Linked DNA regions of Homo sapiens: regions 1 and 3 are each linked to region 2. Evidence: promoter capture Hi-C in human tissues and cell types (Jung and others, 2019). All regions are on one chromosome and are shown on one strand. Each heading gives the region's core, a stretch centred on a gene start or on the middle of the fragment in contact. The rest is flanking DNA. Distances are from core to core; before and after follow the strand shown. Region 1 overlaps ARID3C (AT-rich interaction domain 3C). Region 2 holds the start of FANCG (FA complementation group G). Region 3 holds the start of CCL27 (C-C motif chemokine ligand 27).

Region 1 (3,372 bases), core at 315-2,814, 460 kb after region 2:
GCCTCCCCTCCACTGGGGTAGCGGGTGTGAACCGATCCCAGCATTGCCTGCCTCCCTTCGGTCCCTGCCTCCCACCGCTCCAGCTGCAGGGGGAGGGGGTCCCGCGGGGCCGATAATTTTCCCCCATTAATCAGGCCGCAGCTAATTGTTCGGGTCCAAAGGCGCGGCGGAAGGGGACGGGATCGGTAAGGAATTAACTGGGGCCCATCGCTCAGCGCAGACAGGCCCCTTTGTCAGGACTGGCCGGCGGGGGCGGCGCGGGCTGCGGAGTCGGCGGGCCGAGGCGGGAGTTGATTCTTTTCCCGCCCGTCATCCCCCAGCCTTGGGCAGCCACCCGGGGGCTGCTGCTTAGGGGAGGCCGGCTCTTCAGCACTGTCCGAAAGTCCTTCCTGCGGTCTACCCCAGGGGACAGCAAACTAAAGTTTGCAGGCCAAACCCAGCTGCCTGCAAGATAAGAATGGTTTTTACTTGTTTAAATAGTTGGGGGACAAAATTTAAAGATGAATAACATCTCCAGACTGGTGAAATTCGAATTTCAGAGTCTATATTATTGGAACACAGCCGCATCCATTCCTTCAGGTATTCTCTATGGCCGCCTTTAGGCTACAATGACAGCGTTGAGTAGTTGTGACAGAGACCATTTAGCCATCTGGCCTTTTACAGAACTTTGCCCCCCCCCGTTCTAGCCTCCTGTCCTTCTTGCTAAAACAGAGACCCTGGGGTTCTGTGGGCTCCGCCCAAGTCTCCCTCTTTCCCGCCCTCCCCGGGGCTCCCGTCCTGTATCAGTCCCTGGGGATGCTGCAGACAGGGTCTTCGTCTCAGTGTCCTGACGGCAGCCCGCTCCCCACCAGGGACGCCAGTGAACCGCGTGCCCATCATGGCGAAGCAGGTGCTCGACCTGTACGCTCTGTTTCGCCTGGTGACCGCCAAGGGCGGCCTGGTGGAAGTCATCAACCGCAAAGTGTGGCGGGAAGTCACGCGCGGCCTCAGCCTACCCACCACCATCACCTCGGCCGCCTTCACTCTACGCACCCAGTGAGGCCAGGGGCGGGAGCGGAAGGGAAGGGGGCACGGGTTCGGCCTGGGGCGGGAGGGGGGAGGGTCCCCGGGCGGGCGTCCGGCTGTGGGACTTGACCAGCTGGGTGCAGCCTCCCATACACTCACCGCCCGCTGTCCGCCCCTAGGTACATGAAGTACCTGTACCCGTACGAGTGCGAGACTCGAGCGCTCAGCTCCCCAGGGGAGCTCCAGGCCGCCATAGACAGCAATCGGCGCGAGGGCCGTCGCCAGGCTTACACCGCTACTCCGCTCTTCGGCTTGGCAGGGCCGCCCCCTCGGGGCGCTCAGGACCCAGCCTTGGGTCCCGGCCCCGCCCCTCCGGCGACCCAGTCCAGCCCTGGCCCAGCCCAGGGTTCCACCTCCGGCCTGCCAGCGCATGCATGCGCTCAGCTGAGTCCAAGCCCTATTAAGAAAGGTGCGAGGGGAGAATGGTAGAGGTTTCGGGGTCTCTGAGGTTTAGGTGGGCGCTAAGATATAGCAACCATTAAAATGTGAGGATTGAGGTCTGGGGAGGCATTGAGGTATGGGAGCAGTAAGGTCTGACGGGCTTCTGAGGTTTGGGGGTCACTAAGGTTTAGGGGTCCTGAGGTTTGCGGCCAAATGAGAGCTCTGGGGTACGGGTTACTGAAGTGTAGGGGCTGAAGTTCAGGAAAAGGTCCTTTTTTTTCTTTTTTTCTTTTTTTTTTTTTTTTGTGAGACGGAGTCTCGTTCCGTCGCCCAGGCTGGAGTGCAGTGGCGCGATCTCAGCTCACGGCAACCTCCGCCTCCCGGGTTCAAGCGATTCTCCTGCCTCAGCCTCCCGAGTAGCTGGGACTACAGGGGCCCGCCACCATGCCCGGCTAATTTTTGTATTTTTAGTAGAGACGGGGTTTCACCGTGTTAGCCAGGATGGTCTCGATCTCCTGACCACGTGATCCGCCCTCCTCCGCTTCCCAAAGTGTTGGGATTACAGGCTGAGTCACCGCGCCCGGCCAGGAAAAGGTCCTTTAATCACAGCAACTCCATTCCACACATGTCCACCCAGTGCTCCTATTTGCATATAGTTTGTGCCTCTTGTGACCTGGATTATTTAATAACCAACAGCCAAAAACAATCCCCCAAATTGTCTAGACATGTACCTTGATCCTTTGGGCTCTAGAGAAAAGCTTCAGCGCTTCCAGGCTGAGGCTCTGGATGGGAAGATAGATCGAATGAAGGATGAGAGATTGGTACATGAGCTTGAGTTACCTCTTTTGGTCCCAGGCCTGGGGGAGAACCAATGCAGAGATGGGTTGGTTTGGCCAGGGGAGCTGAATAACCTGTTCTTCTAGAGGAGAGTGGAATTCCAAACCCTTGTCTGGCACTGCCTGTGGGCCTGGCACTGGGACCTACACGGGAGAAATTGGCACCAGAGGAGCCCCCAGAGAAGAGAGCTGTGCTGATGGGGCCTATGGACCCACCTCGACCTTGCATGCCCCCCAGTTTCCTGCCCCGTGGCAAGGTTCCCCTGAGGGGTGAGGAGGGGCTTGTTGTGAGGGGGCTTCGGGACTGTACACTGAGGGAGGATTGACCCATCACCTGATAGGTGTTAGAGACGGGGCAGACAGATTCCTCTGTAGACAACTGTGTGAGTATAGGTGTGGGGCTGAAGTGGAATGGGGGCTGTCTACGGGGATGGAGGGGGGAAATTCTATTAATAAGTCAGAAGTCTGATTCTCCAAAATGTGATTCCTCTGCCCCCTCCTGGACAGAAGAGCGGCTGGATGGGCCTCTTAATCTGGCAGGCAGTGGCATCAGCAGTATCAACATGGCCCTAGAGATCAACGGGGTGGTCTACACTGGTATGGGTACTGCAGGCTGTCTACACTGGCATGGGGTCAGGGGTATTTAGGCTGGCATGGGGATTTTAGACTTCCTCTACTAGCATGAAGTTCAGGGATATCTAAACTTGCATGAGTAACATGGAGTTCAGGGGATTGCTAGACTGGCATGGGTTAAAGGGGGTGTCTACATGGCATGGGATCCAAGGCATGACCTCTCTGGCATGAGTACCAGGGGATGTCTGCCTTGTCTTGGGCCTATGTATCAGCATAAATATTCCTTGTTTACCTGTTTGAGGTATCTACATTAGCAATGGAGTCTCTTACTGACCCAAGGAGCTTGTCCTCATTGGTTTGTGGCAGGGGTACGTGTGTAGTGTTCTAGCAACCAGAACACTTACTTTTGTTCCCCTCTTCTGTTTCCATACCCTACCCCCTCCTGCTTGTTTTTGCCCTCTACCATCTCCTCACCCCTTTGCCAGGTGTCCTCTTTGCCCGCCGCCAGCCTGTGCCA
Region 2 (3,209 bases), core at 710-3,209:
TTTTGGTAAAATGTCTTTTTTTTTTTTTTTGGTCCATCTTAAAATTGTTTTTTGTTTTGTTTTGAGACAGGGTCTCACTTTGTTGCCCACGCTGGAGTGCAGTGGCTCAATCATGGCTCACTGCAGCTTCGACATCCCTGAGCTCAGGTGATCCTCCCACCTAAGTTTCCCGAGTAGATGGGACTACAGGTGTGTGCCACCATGCCCAGCTAATTTTTGTATTTTTTTTGTAGAGGTGGGGTTTTGCTATGTTGCCCAGGCAGGTCTTAAACTTCTGAGGCTCAAATGATCCTCCCACCTCAGCCTCCCAAAGTGCTGGGATAACAGGCATGAACCACCACACCCAGCTAAGATTGTTTTTAAAAATCTTTTTCTTGAGTTTTGGGAGTTTTTATGTGTTAGGGATACCAGTCCCTTATGAGGTATATAATTAGCAAGTAGTTTCTCCCACTCTGTGACTGTGACCTTTCTTTTTTTGAGGCAGGGTCTCACTCTGTTACTCAGGCTGGAGGGCAGTGGTGTGATCATGGCTCACTGCAACCTGGAACTCCTAGGCTCAAGGGCTCCTCCCACCTCAGCCTCCCAAGTAGCTGGGTCTACAGGTGTGTTATTGTGCCAGGGTTAATGTTTTAAATTTTTTGTAGAGATAATGTCTCTACAAAAGACACCATCTTTGTTGCCTAGGCTGGTCTTGAACTCCTGGCTTCAGGGAATCCTCCAGCCTCAGCCTCCCAAAGTGCTGGGATTACAGCATGAGCCACATCCAGCCTATGATTTTTCTTCTTTTCTTTTCTTTTCTTTTCTTTTTTTTTTGAGATGGAGTCTCGCTGTTGCGCAGGCTGGAGTGCAGTGGGGCGATCTCGGCTCACTGCAGGCTCTGGCCCGCGGGGTTCACGCCTTTCTCCTGCCTCAGCCTCCCGAGTAGCTGGGACTACAGGCGCCCGCCACATCGCCCGGCTAATTTTTTGTATTTTTAGTAGAGACGGGGTTTCACCGTGTTAGCCATGATGGTCTCGATCTCCTGACCTCGTGATCCGCCCGCCTCGGTCTCCCAAAGTGCTGGGATCACAGGCGTGAGCCACGGCGCCCGGCCCCAGCGTATGACTTCTTAATGATGTCTTTGTAGTACAAGAGTTTTTAATTTTAATAAAGTTAACTTTTTTTTAAATTGTACAAGCTTTTAGTGCTGTGTCTAACAACTTGTTGCCAAACCCAAGGTCATAAAGCTGTTCTCTTACGTTTTCTTTTTTTTTTTTTTTTGAGACGGAGTCTCACTCTGTCACCCAGGCTGGAGTGCAATGGCACGATGTCGGCTCACTGCAACCTCCGCCACCCGGGTTCAAGCGATTCTTCCGCCTCAGCCTCCGGGGTAGCTGGGATTACAGGCGCACGACACCACGCCCTGCTAATTTTTGTATTTTTGTAGAGAAGGTTTCACCATGTTAGTTAGGCTGCTTTACGTTTTCTTTTAGAAGTTTTATATTTTTGGCTCTTATATTTAGTTTGTGATCCATTGAGTTGATTTTATGTACGTATGTATGGTCGCGTTCTTTTCTTTCCTGTCTTTTTTTTTTTTTTTTTTTGCATATGGATATTCAATTCTCCTAGCTCCATTTAATTTGAAATGATTGGGCAGGTACTTTTGAGCAGTGCAAGTACAGAGCGGCACTGCCAGCAGACTACACGCGGTAGAAAGCCGACCTTGGTGAGCGTGTTGGTGCTCGACAGTGAGCAGAGAAAGGATGGACGATTACGGAGCGCCCTCGTCTCCAGTTACCGCTTTCTGGAAACACCATCCGCCGGGGCGGAGCTGTTCCGCCCCGGTGCGGTACTACGACTCCCAGCATGCACCTCGCAGTCGGCCCTCGGTGGAAGCGGGAACCCAGGAGGACCTGGGGGTGTGGCAGCGAGGAAGGGCCGAGCCACGGACTGTGGGGCCGAAACTCGCTCCCGCCCACCCTTTCTCGAGGCTGTGGCCTCCGCGAGAGCCGAGCGGGCCGCACCGCCGGCCGTGCGACTGCCCCAGTCAGACACGACCCCGGCTTCTAGCCCGCCTAAGCCTGTTTGGGGTTGCTGACTCGTTTCCTCCCCGAGTTTCCCGCGGGAACTAACTCTTCAAGAGGACCAACCGCAGCCCAGAGCTTCGCAGACCCGGCCAACCAGAGGCGAGGTTGAGAGCCCGGCGGGCCGCGGGGAGAGAGCGTCCCATCTGTCCTGGAAAGCCTGGGCGGGTGGATTGGGACCCCGAGAGAAGCAGGGGAGCTCGGCGGGGTGCAGAAGTGCCCAGGCCCCTCCCCGCTGGGGTTGGGAGCTTGGGCAGGCCAGCTTCACCCTTCCTAAGTCCGCTTCTGGTCTCCGGGCCCAGCCTCGGCCACCATGTCCCGCCAGACCACCTCTGTGGGCTCCAGCTGCCTGGACCTGTGGAGGGAAAAGAATGACCGGCTCGTTCGACAGGCCAAGGTAACACGGTTGCTGGCACCCTCGGTTTGCAGCCTCAAGATCCCTGAAAGCGGGTTTGCAGTGGATTTACCCCAACCGATGGGGAGGGACTGAGCTTGACCAAAGAGCCAGAAATGACTGGAGAATGCATCCCTTGCCACTGCTGCAAGGGGAGAAAAAAGGATTGATCCTCAGTGACAACCCCTCCCTCATGTGGCAGGTGGCTCAGAACTCCGGTCTGACTCTGAGGCGACAGCAGTTGGCTCAGGATGCACTGGAAGGGCTCAGAGGGCTCCTCCATAGTCTGCAAGGTAGGCGGGTCCTCCCCAGGATGGTCAGTTCCCCTCTTCCATAGCCAGAGAAACATCCGCTCCTGCGTTTTTGGGATCGATATAATTACTCGGGGCAGGGAGTCCTGTTTAAGGCACAGAGGAGACTGGAGTGGAATCATCTTTGTACAGGCAAATCCCTCTCTTCCTTACACACTCACAGAGTGGCATTTGAAAAATGGTTTCCAAGATGGTCTGATCTGGATAACTTTTTTGCCCTTTCCAGACTCTCTGTCCAAAGGTTGGGTTCTTTTTTTAAATCCTTAGCTAATTGGCTGGAGGGTGGGTTCTTTATTGTAGCTGTTTTGGTTGGAGTGGGGTGATCTCTGAGTTGGGATTTTATTTGGAGGATCTTCCATGGGGGAGCAGTCTGTAAGACCAACATTGTTGCTCCAGGGCTCCCTGCAGCTGTTCCTGTTCTTCCCTTGGAGCTGACTGTCA
Region 3 (3,168 bases), core at 638-3,137, 420 kb after region 2:
CTACCTAGAAGTTCTTGCTCCCTCCCTAGGAGAGTCCAAGGGCCACTGCTCTTTGCCGCCCCCTTCTGTCACCCAATCAGCCTGGGACCCACTAACTCCTCAAGTGGTGAGAATCAGGGACTGCTATGTGGGCCTGCCTTCAGTTAGGGACTGGACCCAGCACCAGAAAGGGCACCACAAGATTAAGTTAAAGAAAGAGATGGCCCAGTTTCTGGCTGGGGCCAAAGCTACAGCAGATTGTGGCTGGGGAGAAGACTTGGTCTTAAAGGGGAGAGATGGGTGCACACCCAAAAGCATTTGTTTTCTGCCTTCCGAAGACTTCTGGACCGACAAGCCCAGGGAAGACCAGAAAGTATGTAGCGCACAGCCAAGTGATGAAGAAGGTCTATGACAAGCCCGAGGAACCTGGGAGATTTCCTTGGGATTTCCTCAGTGGCTACACCCAACAAGCCTTGGGACACAAGAGAAAGGCCTAAGCCCTATCCCAAGAGAAAGCCTACTCCATAGAGAGTGGCTGACCCTACAGCAGACGACTGCAACAAGATAAGGGCTGGATTACTGTGTTATGACTTGGTTTATGTTTCAAATATAGAGCAGGACTTGCAGATTGAGATCCCTGGACCAGGAGTGGGAAATTCTTAAAGGAGCCAGGGGCACTGAACTTGGCAGCATACCCCCACCCTAGGCAGCTCCCAGCTTCCTGGAAAGGACTGGATAAAGATGAATAGGAGCTTTGCATTGCAGGGAGGGGGTAAAGAACGGAGTGACAGCTGGGTATGGGATTAGGAGAGAAGCGGCTATAGCTGGAGGGTGGGATGCAGGGGGTATAGCAGTTGGACATGAGGGTGTGACTGAACCCGGGTAGGGAGAGGGGATGTTCCTCCAGGCCCAGGAAGGAGGCTGGAATTTGAGTAAAACAAAGATGTAATTGAGTGCTTGAGTCCAATGTCTTCAACAAGTCAGGGACTGGATCTGGAGACCCTAGGCCCCTGCTGGCAAGAGGTTGGCATTCCTGGAACAGGACTAGACAAAAACAGGAAGGTAAGATTCACTGGGCCTTTTACCTGTTTTGACAACAGTAACCTAGCACCAAAGAGCTTTTATCTTCCCTCCTTATCTACCCCACCTTTCCTCCCTGTCTCATCATCCTGGGGAAAGCTGCCCCACCTCAGCATCTCCAAAACACCCTTAATATTACCATAAAGGGCCTTCCCCCAGCTTCTCTGAATGGGGCTGGCCTCAGCCAAGAACCCTCCTCAGCCAGAAGGGCCTGCTCTAGGGACCCATTCCCATCCATTTCTTCTGATAAGACAGGCAGGCCAAGCCAGGAAGTGGGGAGGAGAAGGTGAAGGCAAGTTGGTGCTTGCCTGCCCTCTGCTCCCACCCCACCCACAACTCCCCTGTCAGAATCTGTGTGTGCTAGTGTGAATTTGCTTGTGATTGGATGACTGTGAAAACACAATTGGGTGGGAGAGGGACTTTGAGTATAACCGGGGCTATATAATTTTGTCTACGGTTGTCTGATCATGAGTATGACTTTGTGAGGTTGACCAAGTGATTGAGGAGTGACTTTGAATGTGTGGCTATGCGTATTTGAGTGTGAATGTCTATCATTAGATGCTGCTGTGGATGCTTGACTGCCCTTACTCACTGTTCCATCAGTCCCTACATCACACACTAATCCTTCCCCCAGCTTCACTGCCCAGAGCTTAGGAGCACATGGGAAATGGCTATCCTAGATGAGGAAGGAGTCTGTGGCAACAGGCCGAGAATTAGGGCCCAGGAGTGTCACAGGTTACACAGTACATCTCCAACTGCCTCTGACTCACCTAGTGCCCCAGGTAAAAGGCACCCAGATAAAAGGTAGGGGAGGAGGAGAGAGAGAGAAGGAAGAGTCTAGGCTGAGCAACATGAAGGGGCCCCCAACCTTCTGCAGCCTCCTGCTGCTGTCATTGCTCCTGAGCCCAGACCCTACAGCAGGTGAGTACTTGGGGGTATAGAAAGCTGGGGGTCTGGGTGAATGGGATGAAGTTGAAAAGACCCAGGAAATCCAACCTAACCTCCAGCTGTCTGGCAGAGAGGTTCTTGGTCAGGATCCCTCTGAACACATGGCCCTGTTGCCCCTAGCATTCCTACTGCCACCCAGCACTGCCTGCTGTACTCAGCTCTACCGAAAGCCACTCTCAGACAAGCTACTGAGGAAGGTCATCCAGGTGGAACTGCAGGAGGCTGACGGGGACTGTCACCTCCAGGCTTTCGTGTGAGCTCCCACCCCTGATACCCCTGACTCTGACCTCAGTCCCAACCCCTAATGCTGATCCCAACCCCAGCCCTAACTGCTAATTCTGTTGCCAACTCAGGTTTTCATCTGGTCCTTGCTCCTAACCCCTAATTAGGGTCATTGGGGATGACCCTAATCTCATCCCCAAGCTATGGTCATAGCTTTGGACCTTTCTCTACCCAGGCTTCACCTGGCTCAACGCAGCATCTGCATCCACCCCCAGAACCCCAGCCTGTCACAGTGGTTTGAGCACCAAGAGAGAAAGCTCCATGGGACTCTGCCCAAGCTGAATTTTGGGATGCTAAGGAAAATGGGCTGAAGCCCCCAATAGCCAAATAATAAAGCAGCATTGGATAATAATTTCTGAGTATAATCTCCAAGAACTTCCTTATTCTCTTTATTCACACCTGCACAACCCCTGCAAGGGGAAAGGCCAAGAGCCAAGGACCCACACACACTCCCCAGGCACCTACATACATGCATGCAGAGAATACATGTTCCCTGCCTCACAGACACATGGTCACACATGGACACAGATGTACACATTACACACGTTCCTTGAGCAGAACTCCAACTCTGGGGTGAAATCAGAGGTACAAGCACCTTTCAGCTGCAAATTTGAAATACAGGGTCTCACAGAAATGGGCTCCAAACAGAACTTCCAGCTGAGATCCAACCATAGGGATCTACTGTCCTGCCTGGTTTCTATCCACACCAGCAAGACAGAATTATAGGTGGAATCTGCCGAAGCCCTCCTGGGTCCTCTACAGGTTTGGAGCTCCTAGAAGAAGCAGGAGGCAAATCAGGAGAGACAGTAAGACCGGATCTTGGCCCAGACACCCTGAGAATGAGGGAGGTGACTCAGTTCTAAGCTTAACACTCTGAAG

Evidence for each region. The method cuts DNA at HindIII sites, captures the fragments that hold promoters and counts their contacts. A contact is called where the count stands out against the background at its distance.
Region 1: a contact is called between a fragment that was not itself captured here and the fragment with the promoter of FANCG in region 2, in 1 of the 25 tissues and cell types used here (dorsolateral prefrontal cortex).
Region 3: the fragment with the promoter of CCL27 here is called in contact with the fragment with the promoter of FANCG in region 2 in 1 of the 25 tissues and cell types used here (dorsolateral prefrontal cortex).

What each region holds. Positions count from the first base shown.
Region 1 is chr9:34,621,527-34,624,898 of GRCh38, reverse strand. ARID3C (AT-rich interaction domain 3C) reads left to right here. Exons shown (of 8, transcript NM_001017363.4): 4 at 852-1,035; 5 at 1,185-1,474; 6 at 2,370-2,552; 7 at 2,790-2,879; 8 at 3,341-3,372. Among named protein-coding and RNA genes, the nearest start is that of DCTN3, 2.7 kb to the right of the region's middle. RefSeq lists an enhancer at 157-705. The HindIII fragment of the contact is 5,541 bases long and covers 1-3,372 here.
Region 2 is chr9:35,078,692-35,081,900 of GRCh38, reverse strand. It overlaps FANCG (FA complementation group G), which reads left to right and starts at 1,959. Exons shown (of 14, transcript NM_004629.2): 1 at 1,959-2,460; 2 at 2,660-2,750; 3 at 3,165-3,209. The coding sequence starts at 2,377. RefSeq lists enhancers at 507-1,113, 2,330-2,937 and a silencer at 2,089-2,254. The HindIII fragment of the contact is 6,213 bases long and covers 1-3,209 here.
Region 3 is chr9:34,661,376-34,664,543 of GRCh38, reverse strand. CCL27 (C-C motif chemokine ligand 27) reads left to right here and starts at 1,887. Exons shown (of 3, transcript NM_006664.4): 1 at 1,887-1,980; 2 at 2,128-2,260; 3 at 2,465-2,654. The coding sequence starts at 1,911. The coding sequence ends at 2,600. IL11RA (interleukin 11 receptor subunit alpha) reads right to left here. Exons shown (of 13, transcript NM_001142784.3): 13 at 2,642-3,062. The coding sequence ends at 3,046. It overlaps LOC730098, which reads left to right. Exons shown (of 3, transcript NM_001320038.2): 3 at 1-381. The HindIII fragment of the contact is 14,352 bases long and covers 1-3,168 here.